Linked DNA regions of Homo sapiens: regions 1 and 2 are each linked to region 3. Evidence: promoter capture Hi-C in 16 types of primary human blood cells and fetal thymus (Javierre and others, 2016). All regions are on one chromosome and are shown on one strand. The core of a region is centred on a gene start or on the middle of the fragment in contact, and the rest is flanking DNA. Distances in the headings are between cores, read along the strand shown.

Evidence for each region. The method cuts DNA at HindIII sites, captures the fragments that hold promoters and counts their contacts. A CHiCAGO score of 5 or more calls a contact.
Region 1: a fragment that was not itself captured here is called in contact with the fragment with the promoter of FSIP2 in region 3 in 2 of 17 cell types (megakaryocytes and erythroblasts); the score reaches 6.4 in megakaryocytes.
Region 2: a fragment that was not itself captured here is called in contact with the fragment with the promoter of FSIP2 in region 3 in 1 of 17 cell types (megakaryocytes); the score reaches 5.6 in megakaryocytes.

What each region holds. Positions count from the first base shown.
Region 1 is chr2:185,273,977-185,277,574 of GRCh38, forward strand. No RefSeq gene overlaps it. Among named protein-coding and RNA genes, the nearest start is that of FSIP2, 460 kb to the right of the region's middle. The HindIII fragment of the contact is 2,958 bases long and covers 216-3,173 here.
Region 2 is chr2:185,322,651-185,326,308 of GRCh38, forward strand. No RefSeq gene overlaps it. Among named protein-coding and RNA genes, the nearest start is that of FSIP2, 410 kb to the right of the region's middle. The HindIII fragment of the contact is 724 bases long and covers 1,393-2,116 here.
Region 3 is chr2:185,736,940-185,740,406 of GRCh38, forward strand. It overlaps FSIP2 (fibrous sheath interacting protein 2), which reads left to right and starts at 1,865. Exons shown (of 23, transcript NM_173651.4): 1 at 1,865-2,054; 2 at 2,407-2,532. The coding sequence starts at 1,956. FSIP2-AS2 (FSIP2 antisense RNA 2) reads right to left here. Exons shown (of 3, transcript NR_110217.1): 1 at 3,440-3,467. RefSeq lists a silencer at 1,997-2,266. The HindIII fragment of the contact is 3,199 bases long and covers 1,637-3,467 here.

The DNA.
Region 1 (3,598 bases), core at 445-2,944, 460 kb before region 3:
GGACTTTTCCTTATTCTGTAAACATAGAAATTCTAATCACTTTACAACGAAAAAGGCAAAGGAATTACACACAGCATTTGTGTCTGCACGTAGACATGTGCATTCCACAGAGAAAGTAGGCTCAGATAAGAGGTTTAGTGCTCGGGTTAGTTTTAAGCATGTTGAGTGTATAGTCTATAGTGCCAATTGACTTACATGTGGAATTAAATAGGGCAAGCTTGGAGGTGCCACTTCAGCTGAGTGCAATCCATAGGGCTTTCCATTGTTGGGAACTAAAATTTGCACAATGTAATGTAGCTGGGAAAATAGAGATATAACCTGTGGTTAATTAAACACATGTGGTAACAATACTTTTTTCTTTAGCCATATACAGTCATATTAACATATGAAGAAACAGTTGTGAGTGAAACTATCCTGGTATCATTCTTCAGTTAAGTATGAGATACAACTCTTGCAGAATTCCAAGAAATACTAACACAAATAAAAGAAAGAAATAAAAACAATAAAATTGTGATACAAAATTTTATCAAAGAGGTTGAAAGAATACCTGAAGTTCCTAGGAAAGGGACCAATGAAGGAGAAAGTGATTAACATAATCACTTCTTTACAAGAAGTAAAGCAGAAGCACTGTAGTTTGTCCACTGTAGTTATTATAAGGAGCCATTGATTGGCAACCTTACCAAAGAGATCAAGGAGAAGAGAGAGAGCTAAGGCCAAATAGTATGAGTTAAAAAAATAAAAATAAATGAAGACAGTGAATAATATGTAATCTTTCAAGAAAGGTGGCTGTGAAACAGTAGGTAGAGATAGGCCTACACATGTTTGGCGGGGGTAGATATGAGGCATCATTTATTTCTGTATTTAAGATGGCAGATCCTTAATAATCTTAAAAGGTGTTAGAAATGAATCATAATAGGAGTGATTGAATACACAGGCGAGAGTGAGACAAATGAGAGAAAGTCCCCTGAAGTCACTTTATAGCTTTCCTTTCTTTCACTCTTATATATGCTTATTGTGAATTTTAGTCTTCAGTCTTAACCCTCCCAAGAGAGTTCATAGAGCGTAGTGCTTAACAATCACCTCTCTGAGACTGATCCTAAAATCCCATCTCTAGCTGTAATCCCTCTACTTTAAATTTCAATCCTGGATCTCTAATTGCCTGCTGGGCATTTCCATTTTAAATTCAACATATCTAAAAACTAACTCTTCATTCTTCTGAAAAATCAACTTTGCCTCTTGACTCCTTTGTAATTTGTGGTCTGACAGCTTTTCTCTGACTATTCCCACTTCCTTATTCGTTTATATTCAAATACTGTGTCTACCCTTAACCATACAGTGTTTGATTAATCACAAACCTCACAGAATGTTTCCTTATCTGTTTGGACTACATGACCTTTAAGTTCTCTCCCAAAACTAATTTTGCTTCATTCTAGAAGCTGCCATTAATATGAAGCTCACTTGCACTGCAGTAAAGATTGTCTAACTTCATAGACCTACTTTATGAATGGAAAAAGGTAATTAAACTGACAATTGCTTTCTCCCCAAGGGAACTTAAAAAACAATTTTCATTTTTTTAAAAAAATTTAGGTCTTCTAACTTCATCATGTATGGTAGTATACATATATATTACATTTTATATAACTAAAATATCTATTTAAGAATTTGTTTTTTCCAAAAAAAAATCACCAATAATTTAGCCAGGTTAGGTCAGAGAATATTCAGCAAATCATGAATGAGTTCCCTCAAGGATGATTTTCTGGTGGGAATAATTCATTTGATAAAATACTCAAAAGAGCAATTAAGTAGCTGTAAGGAGACCCCCTGAAACTATTGCTATGGAATAAAAGATGAAAGGCTCCTGATTATTGTAAATACAAAATTGCATGCAGGATTGTGTAAAGACAATGCCAGACTGGGCTGCCAGAATGAGCCAACAGCATGTGATGTGCTTCCCTCTGCAGAGAGCCTATGAATGGACATGAAGTCAGGGAGGTTTCACATCACCAAGATTCCTATCCCAGAAAAGCAGATGGTCATAGCTCTGGGAATGGAATGTGACCCTTGTGGAGAACCTATAAAAGGATGCATGAGGGGCGCCTGTCCATATGGACAAGATAGGGCTATAAATGCCCTCATCTTGCCACGGCTCTTCTAGGCCTCTTTAGGGTTAAGGCATAGTCCCTTCTGAGAATTTCTGGTCTAACCGGTTGTCCAGCTTCATGTCCTGTTTCTATTGATTGTTTGCTGCAACTGTTACTGCTGATTAATATCTTACTAATCATAGGTTATGGAAAGACTGTGTTTCTGTTTTAAGGCTCTGTTAGAAATTGCTGATGCACACACTATATTGTAAATTCTTATCTCTGTATACTGTACTTCTGCATACCAATATTATGTTAAAGAATTACTTCATCCCCATGTGACCATCTCACCTCATAATCAAATGACCCTAAATCCCTCACTAACCTACCCCCGCCCTCACTAAACTTAATAATAAATGCTGGTGTATCCAGTGCATTGGCGGCATTGCAGGACCAGAAGGAGGTGACTCCCCTGGACCCAGCTTTCACTATCTTGTGTGTGTCTATTATTTCTCGACCTGCCAATCTGCCTGGAAACAAAGAAAGAGCCCCGTTGCATTGTGGGCTGCTGGCCAAATCCCGCAATAAATATCAATATATTGAAATTAAAAAGTTAGTTGAGATTATGTCTAAAAATACTTCAAAGCTACTTTCATTTAATTAAAGAAAGACAGTATGTCTCATTATTGTGGTGATTGGGTAAGATGTACCTTGGCCTTCTCAGTTCATTCTAAAGATCTGTCAGTTACCTAAGACCCAGTGCTAAATATTCAGTTGCCAGCAATTTGAAAAAATATATAACATACATGCTTTTCATGAACTCATAATTAATTCTTTTGGGAACGTCAGTCAAAAATTACTAATTTTTATTTATTCTTGCATTTATTCATCCATTTACTGACCTAACTATACAGCATATATTCTTATTCATAAAATATATTCAGGTAGAATGTTTGATATAATAAGCTATCAATATATTTTCTAAGTTTTCTTTGAGGAGCAAAATAATATACGCAATGTTTTCTCAAAAGTTCTAAAAATAGTATACATTTACATAATTTTATGCATATATACTTTTTAATGAAATAAGGAAGCTTTTAATGAGTTTTTTATACTGCATCACACATTTCTCTAAGCAAGAGGGACAAAATTATAAGGAACTATTTTCTTGCCCTCATTGAGCTTATGTTTTGGTCACATGAGACAGAGCTATAAATATGTGAAGTAATTAATATATAAATAAATAAGATTCTGTAATATGTGAAGTGCATTTTACGTATGAACACACCATATGTAATAATTGCATATAATAGTCTGTCCATACACAATACTATTTTTTACAGTATAGAGAGCAATAAAGAGTCTTTGGTCTTTCCTCCAAAAGCCATTAAGTATTTGGAAGTATTAAATTATCTGGCTGAAAAACCACAAATAACAGTTTGTCTCACATAACAAGAACCATAGTTACGTTGCTGCTTTTCTTGTATCAGTGGCCCAATAAAGTCAGGACCAGGATA
Region 2 (3,658 bases), core at 505-3,004, 410 kb before region 3:
TGTCAAAAACCTCCTGTCCACAATGGATAGTTCATCCAGTCAGAAAAGTGAACAAGAAAACATTAGATTTGAACTGTCATTTAGAACAAATGGACCTAACAGGCATATTCAAAAACTTCTTTTCACAGCAGCAGAATACACATTCTTTTTAAGCACTCAGAGAAAATCCTCCAGGATAGATCATATGTTAGGCCAGAAAACAAGTCTTAACAAATTTAAGAAGATTAACATCATACCAAGTACCTTTTCCAACAATGGTAAAAAACTAGAAATCAATAATAAGAACAACATAGGAAAATTCACAAATATGTGGAAATTAAACAACATATTTCTAAACAGCCAAGGTCAAAGAAGAAATCAAAAAGGAAATTTAAAAATATATTGAGACCAATGAAAATGGAAACATACCATGCAAAAACTTATGCGATACAGCATAAAGAGTACTAAAAAGGACATTTCTAACAAAAAATGATTACAGAAGAAAAACATTTCAAACACCTTAACTTTATACCTCAAAAACTAGAAAAAGAAAAACAAACACCAAAGTTAGTAAAAGAAAGAAAATAACAGAAATCAGAGCAGACGTGAATTAGAGACTAGAAAAATAGTAGAAAAAAACTGAAGTGTTTTTTGAAGACTTCAATAATGACAAAATTTAAACTAGAATAACTAAGGAAAAGAAGACTCAAATAAGTAAACTCAGAAATGAAAGAGGAGACATAAGAACGAATATTTCAGAAATACAAAGGATCGTAGGAGACTACTATGATCCATTATATGCCAACAAATTGGATATCCTAGAAGAAATAAATAAATTCCTAGAAACTCACAACTTATCAAGCCTGAATAAGGAAGAAATAAATATCTGAATAGGACAATAACAAACAAGAATATTGAATCAATAATCACAAATCTCCCAATAAATAAAAGTTCAGCACCTGATAGCTTTACTAGTAAATTCTATATTTTTATTTTCACATTTTGGAAAAAAAATAGGCAAACATTGCTGTTGTTTTTATAGTTCTGCTAGGAGTTTCTAGTTGGTACTAATAATGTTCCTGTTTTATTGTCCATCAGGGCTATCCCTGAGCATAGCTATGGCATTGTCACACTTCCACATCTCTTCATATCTGAAGTATGCCATCATATTTACACAACTCTCTTCGAGCTAGGCTTCAATTTTTTTTTTTCCTCCAACAGATATTCATAGTGGGAATATTCCATGTGACTAGGGATAAATGTTGAAAAATTGGTAGTCATGTAACAGACTTGCCAATAGCTAATCGAAATGTTTGTATACCTTCTCTTGGCTTGGTCCTTTGTGCTGACATAATCTGCTTGTATATCTTACTTTGTAGCTTGGTGTTAAGAATGCATTAGTTTATAACGAAAAGCTTGAAATGTGGTTACCTGAGGTTCCATAATCACAACTTTGTTGATCAAGTGGAGCCAGAAGCAAGAACTATCCCTCAGATGAGGAGCAGTAAATTGATAAAGAGGGCATTATTTTGCCCCCAAACATAGGAGCTTCCGTTGGGATTATTTGGTGTTTGACACAGGCTGTATACAGTAGTCAGATCAACCACAACTAATTTCAACTTGCTTTCTGGCAATGTGACAGAAATATTTACAGTGCAGCCTGGAAACTAGGTAGCCTTCTCTTGTAACAAGCATCAGATAAAGCTGTTATCCTTTTGCGTTAACAATTGGGAAAGAAAAGCCCTCTCCATGTATGATGCCTACAAAAGCAGGAGAGACTACATAAAGCTGAGACAGGTGATAAAGTAGAATCACTGGATTAGCTAGTTTCAATACAATTTCTCACATTCTCAGATTTCAAAATACAAAAAAAGTGCATTGGCTAGATTGAACACCACTGAAAGACCAACTGAACATTAGCTATAATCATTGATAATATACTGTCATTCTCTAAGACTGATCTAATTTTTCTGCACTGGTAAAACTGGATTTTAAATAAGAAAGCTCTAGGAATCGTTACCCTTGAGGATTTGACATCTTTAACACTGATGGTAATATTTGTGATTTGCCTCTGTCCCTCCCTCAGTCTCACTCCTAGAATATGATAAACTTTTGACTTAAATTTTGGTGAAGAGGAAGCTTCAGATTCTTCTACTTGGCTCTTCACATAATAGTCTCTAAGGGTGATCTTGAGAGTTAGTATATTTACTCTAACTTTCTTAATCCCACCACTCTTTACATACAGCTTTCTTTTTTTCTGCTCTTTTGGGTAACAAAAACATTGGAAAATAATTTATTGATACATAACAAATGTACATATTTTCACAGTATATGTGATAATGTAGCACACATTTATATAATATTTAAAGATCAAATCAGTGTTGTTGGGATTCCATCACTTTAATATTTTTCTTTTTTTTAAAGGCTAGGAACATTCTAATTATTATCTTCTAGCTATTTTGAAATATACAATAAGTTATTGCAAACTATAGTCACCCTACTCATCTATCAAACACTCAGTCTTATTTTTTCTATCAAACTGTATTTTTTTTTTTTTTTTGAGACAGAGTCTCGCTCTGTCACCCAGGCTGGAGCGTGGTGGCCCGATCCTGGCTCCCTACAACGTCCACCTTCCAGGTTCAAACAATTCTCCTGCTTTAGCCTCCCGAGTAGCTGGAACTGCAGGCGCGTGCCACCATGCCCGGCTAATTTTTTGTATTTTTAGTAGAGATGGGGTTTCACCGTGTTCGCCAGAATGGTCTTGATCTCCTGACCTCGTGATCTGCCCGCCTTGGCCTCCCAAAGTGCTAGGATTAAAGGTGTGAGCCACTGTGCCTGGCCTTGTCAAACTGTATTTTTATACCCATTAATCAACTTCTCTTTATCCTCTCCTCTACCCTTTCCTGCCACTGATAACCACCAATCTACTCTCTCCGTTCATAAGATCTACTTTTTTAGCTCTCACGTGAGTGAAAACATGTGGTATTTGTCTTTCCTGTAACAAAACTTGAAGGATTTGTTTATGTTCACTGTTCCTAGTACATCTTCTTCCATGTTTTTTTGTAAATTCATTCTAATTTTTAAAAAGTAAACGTTAGGATTAAGAAATAATTACACACACCCATTTCAAAAATTTTAATCACTTAAATGTTAAAATACTGCAATGACCCCCATTAATTTAGGATTAAAACCAGACTTTTAAAAATGACTTTTCGATGCCCTTGAAGTTTACTTTCAAAATATGTATCAAAATAAATTTTTGATCATTCTTTAATTGTTGTATGAATTTGCTGTAAACACCTGCCATGTTATCACCACTTAAAACTGAACTTTATTACATTATGTTCCAGAATCATTACATGCTTTCTTACCTCCATTCTTTATCTCTCTAACTCTTACATAAAGTTATAATTTATATATTAAACTTATGGCATATGGATTCATAGAAGCCTATAGTAGCCCTAACATGAAGCTTGTAATTCTGCATTAATTATAAATTCTTATTACCATTTTATCTTCCTCCATAGCAACAATAGCAACTACAATAATACATAGAATCTGTAAGGAATAGATGTGAGGAGAATTTGACTGATTGATTCTTCTTTTGCAAATCTTTTCATACTGGTTTCTGGTAGCAGGCTATACACTACATACTAAAATAATAATTTATTAATACTGT
Region 3 (3,467 bases), core at 615-3,114:
ATCTTAAGATAGATAAATTAGCATGGATAACCTAGATGGGCCCAATGTAATCACAATGATTCTTTAATTGTAGAAGAGAAGGAGCAGAGGTCTGAGTCAGAGAGAGGTTTGAAGATGTTACATTGCCAGATTTAACGTGTGAGGAAGAGGCAACTTCTAGAAGCTGGAAAGGGCAAGAACATAGGTTGTGATCTAGAGCTTCCAGAAAGAACACAGCACTTCCAATACACTGGTTTCTGCCCAGTGAGATTCTCTTTGGATTACTAACCTCCATCACTGTAAGGTAATATATTTGTGGTAATTTAAGCCACTAAGTTTGTGGTGATTTGCTGGCAATAAGAAACTGATACAGAGACCAAGTAACAGAGGCCATTACACACTTTGCGCTGAGGGCAGTTGGGAGTTTAAAGTGAGGAAGAGAAATGGTCAGTTTGCCATCAAAGATCAAATTGATACAAGATGGATTTTTGGGGTAGATGGTGGCAGGGAGATGTTATAAGGCTGTGGCAATGGTGCAAACAAACAAACAAACAAAAAATGATTAGCGGCTTAACCGGGAGAGTAAAGTAGGAGTAGATAGAATCGGGCAAATTAATTTTAGTGATAAAATTAGTGGGACTTGGGGACCAACTAAACATGGGAGATAAGGGGAAAAAGAAGTATCTAGAAGCATTCCTTAGTTTCTGGCTTGGGTAGACTTTGGTATTGTCACTGAGATAGGAAATGCAGGAAGAAGCCTTTGTTTTTTTTTCCTGTTTTGGTGAAAGTTGTGTGTTGAGATTTGAGTAGATTGAATTTAAGACAATTGTGGGATATCCATATGGAAGCTGGCAATAGACTATATCCCAAGCTTAGATTTCAAATTTAAGAGTCCTAAGCACATGTGTGGAATTACAACAAAGAGAGCAGAGTGCACTGATTAAGAAAACAGCCTCAGGAGCCACCATTTAACAGCAATTGTCAGTCTTCCTCAATCTTTGAAAAATAAAGAGTAATTATTGATAAGGCTACTAAAATAAATAAATGTTTAAAAGGGTGTTTGGCACAGTATATGGAAGTTAGTAGATTCTGAAGAAATGGTAACTGTTATTACTAGTCGGGCCAGAAATAAAAGAGAACAGCAGTGGACCAAAGAAAGTATGAAGTTAAGTCTAAACAACAGGTGGGTTAGACACATACTGTCTCTGCCCTCAGAATACTCCCAGTCTAGTTAGCTTCTTACAGTCAGGGGCCATATTTTACTCACGGCTGTGTCCTGCCCAGTGCTTAGCTCAATGACTGGCCCAGAAGCGTCAAGCACTTTATAAATTTCGGCTGGATGGTTGAGGAGAAAGAGGGAAATAGGATCAAGCTGCAGGAGCAGAGAGGAGGCAGTGGGAGAGTGGTAAAGGGCGCTAGAAAGGAGAAGGAAACCTAGGGGACAGAAGAGGCAGGAGGAAGGCAATGAGCCCCTTAGGAAGCCAACGCGTCTGCCTTGTGGACCTGGTGTGGGAAGAAGCTGTGGGAGCCTGGGGATGGGGTGTGGTCTATATGGGGGAAGATGTAGAATGGGCAAAAACAATCACTCGGGAATTTTTATTGAACGGAACAGGGCTCCTTGGAAGCCAGGGGAAATTAACCAGTTACCCACCAACAAAGCTTATACGTTTTCGTTAGGATTGGCTAAGGCGTGATGGTTTCAGAGAAAGATGAAGTTTCAACTGTGGTCCTCTCAGATCAGGCCTCTCGGACCGATTTTCCCAGCTCTGCGGGCGCTCTACGCGCTGGCGCGAGCCGCCCCTCAGGAGGCCACCGCCCTTCTGGGGCCGCTACCATTGGAAGCCTGGAACGCGGGGGGCGGGGCTGAGGTCGTTGGGCTCTGGCCATTCCTGGTCAGGTCCGGACAGAGGGACAACGGGGTGCTAGAGAAGGAGAGCGGGGCGGGTGAGGAAGGGGCTGAGGGGGCTGTGCCGGCCATGGAGCTGTACCTCGGCGCCTGCTCCAAGCCTGCCAAAGTCGCCGTCACCAAGACGGTCGCCAGCGTCCTGGCCGCGGACACCCAGCAGTGCAGAGACGTGAGTGGCCGCAAGCTGGGCGGCGTCGCCCTCTGGCGGCCGCAGGCCTGCTGGGGAGCGGGGCAGGGATCGCCACACACGGGTCGCGAGGCTCCCAACTGTCCCCCGTCAGGAGGCTGCCCTCTTGCGGCGCCCGGGGGCGGTGGCGGTGGCTCGGACTGTACCGGCCGCAACTGGCAGGCGCGGGACGCCAGGAGAGCTGGTGACCAGGGAAAACGGGAGGACTTCAGGATGCCCCGAACCCTGATTGTATAATTCTTCGGAGTCTTTGGTTGCAATGGAAGTAGATTGGTCTAAACTAAACTAATACTGCCTAAAAGGAAAGACAAAACTCTCCAATTGTGTCTGACAGGGCGTGCACAAAACCCACTTTGCAGGGGTTGGACCGGCTCAGCTACTGGACCTACCTCTCGGGGTCAAGCTGCCTGTGATCCCAGGAAGCAATGCTGTATTCTATACTACGAATTTCGGTGAAAAGGTGAACAAGTTTTTATCGTCTTTCTTTCCTTTACCCTTTACTACTTGCTGTTTAACTCAAAGGCTGCATCATACAAAATTCATTAAAGGAATTTGCATCAACATTTACAGGAAAAAGAAAATCCCACATCTGACCGAAGGTATTGTTTAGAATGCATATGAAGCACTTTCATCTTAATGGTTTGGACATAATCATATTCCAGAAAGTTTAGATTCTTAGTCCTTAATTAACAATTCACGGTACCATATTAATATTCCTTATAATAAAACTTCATATATACTTATATAGTAAGATTTGATGTACTTAGAAACATGTTTAGAAGCTGAAAGGTTATTAGTGATAGCTGCCATTTAATGATATGTTACGATTTTAACTGACAGTATCTTGGACCAAACTCTCTTCACGGGAAACATTATTTTGTTTTGAGTTGAATTCTATTTTACACATAAAGAAAAAAAAAAGAACTGAAACAGTGGGACTTAAAATGAGTTAATATGTTTAGTACTTTAACCTTACTTTAATGAAAGAAAGCCCTGCCTCAATGAGGAAGAGACTCCATAATTTGCCCCAGCCTTTCCATCCAGCATTGTCTCCAACCAGAGAGGCTCAGCTTCTTCAAGTTGAGTCTTTCACACCTACCCATAAATACCATGCTAATACTTCAGTATTTTGTCAACTTTGCCCCCAAACCTGGCATACCTTGTCTTCTTCTCCCCAGTCTATGAATCTGAGCTATCAAGATTCTCTGAACTGTGATAGCCCCCCCGTTAGCTTATTTTTGCTTAGAGTTCACGTTGCCCTTGATTTGTGTGATCTCACTTACACAAACCATAGTTAATCATACTGGATTATAGTGTGTACTTCCCTTAAGCCTTTTCATGTTTTTAGTCCTTAACACCACACCTACCCCCAAACCTCCCCAGCCTTTGACTAAG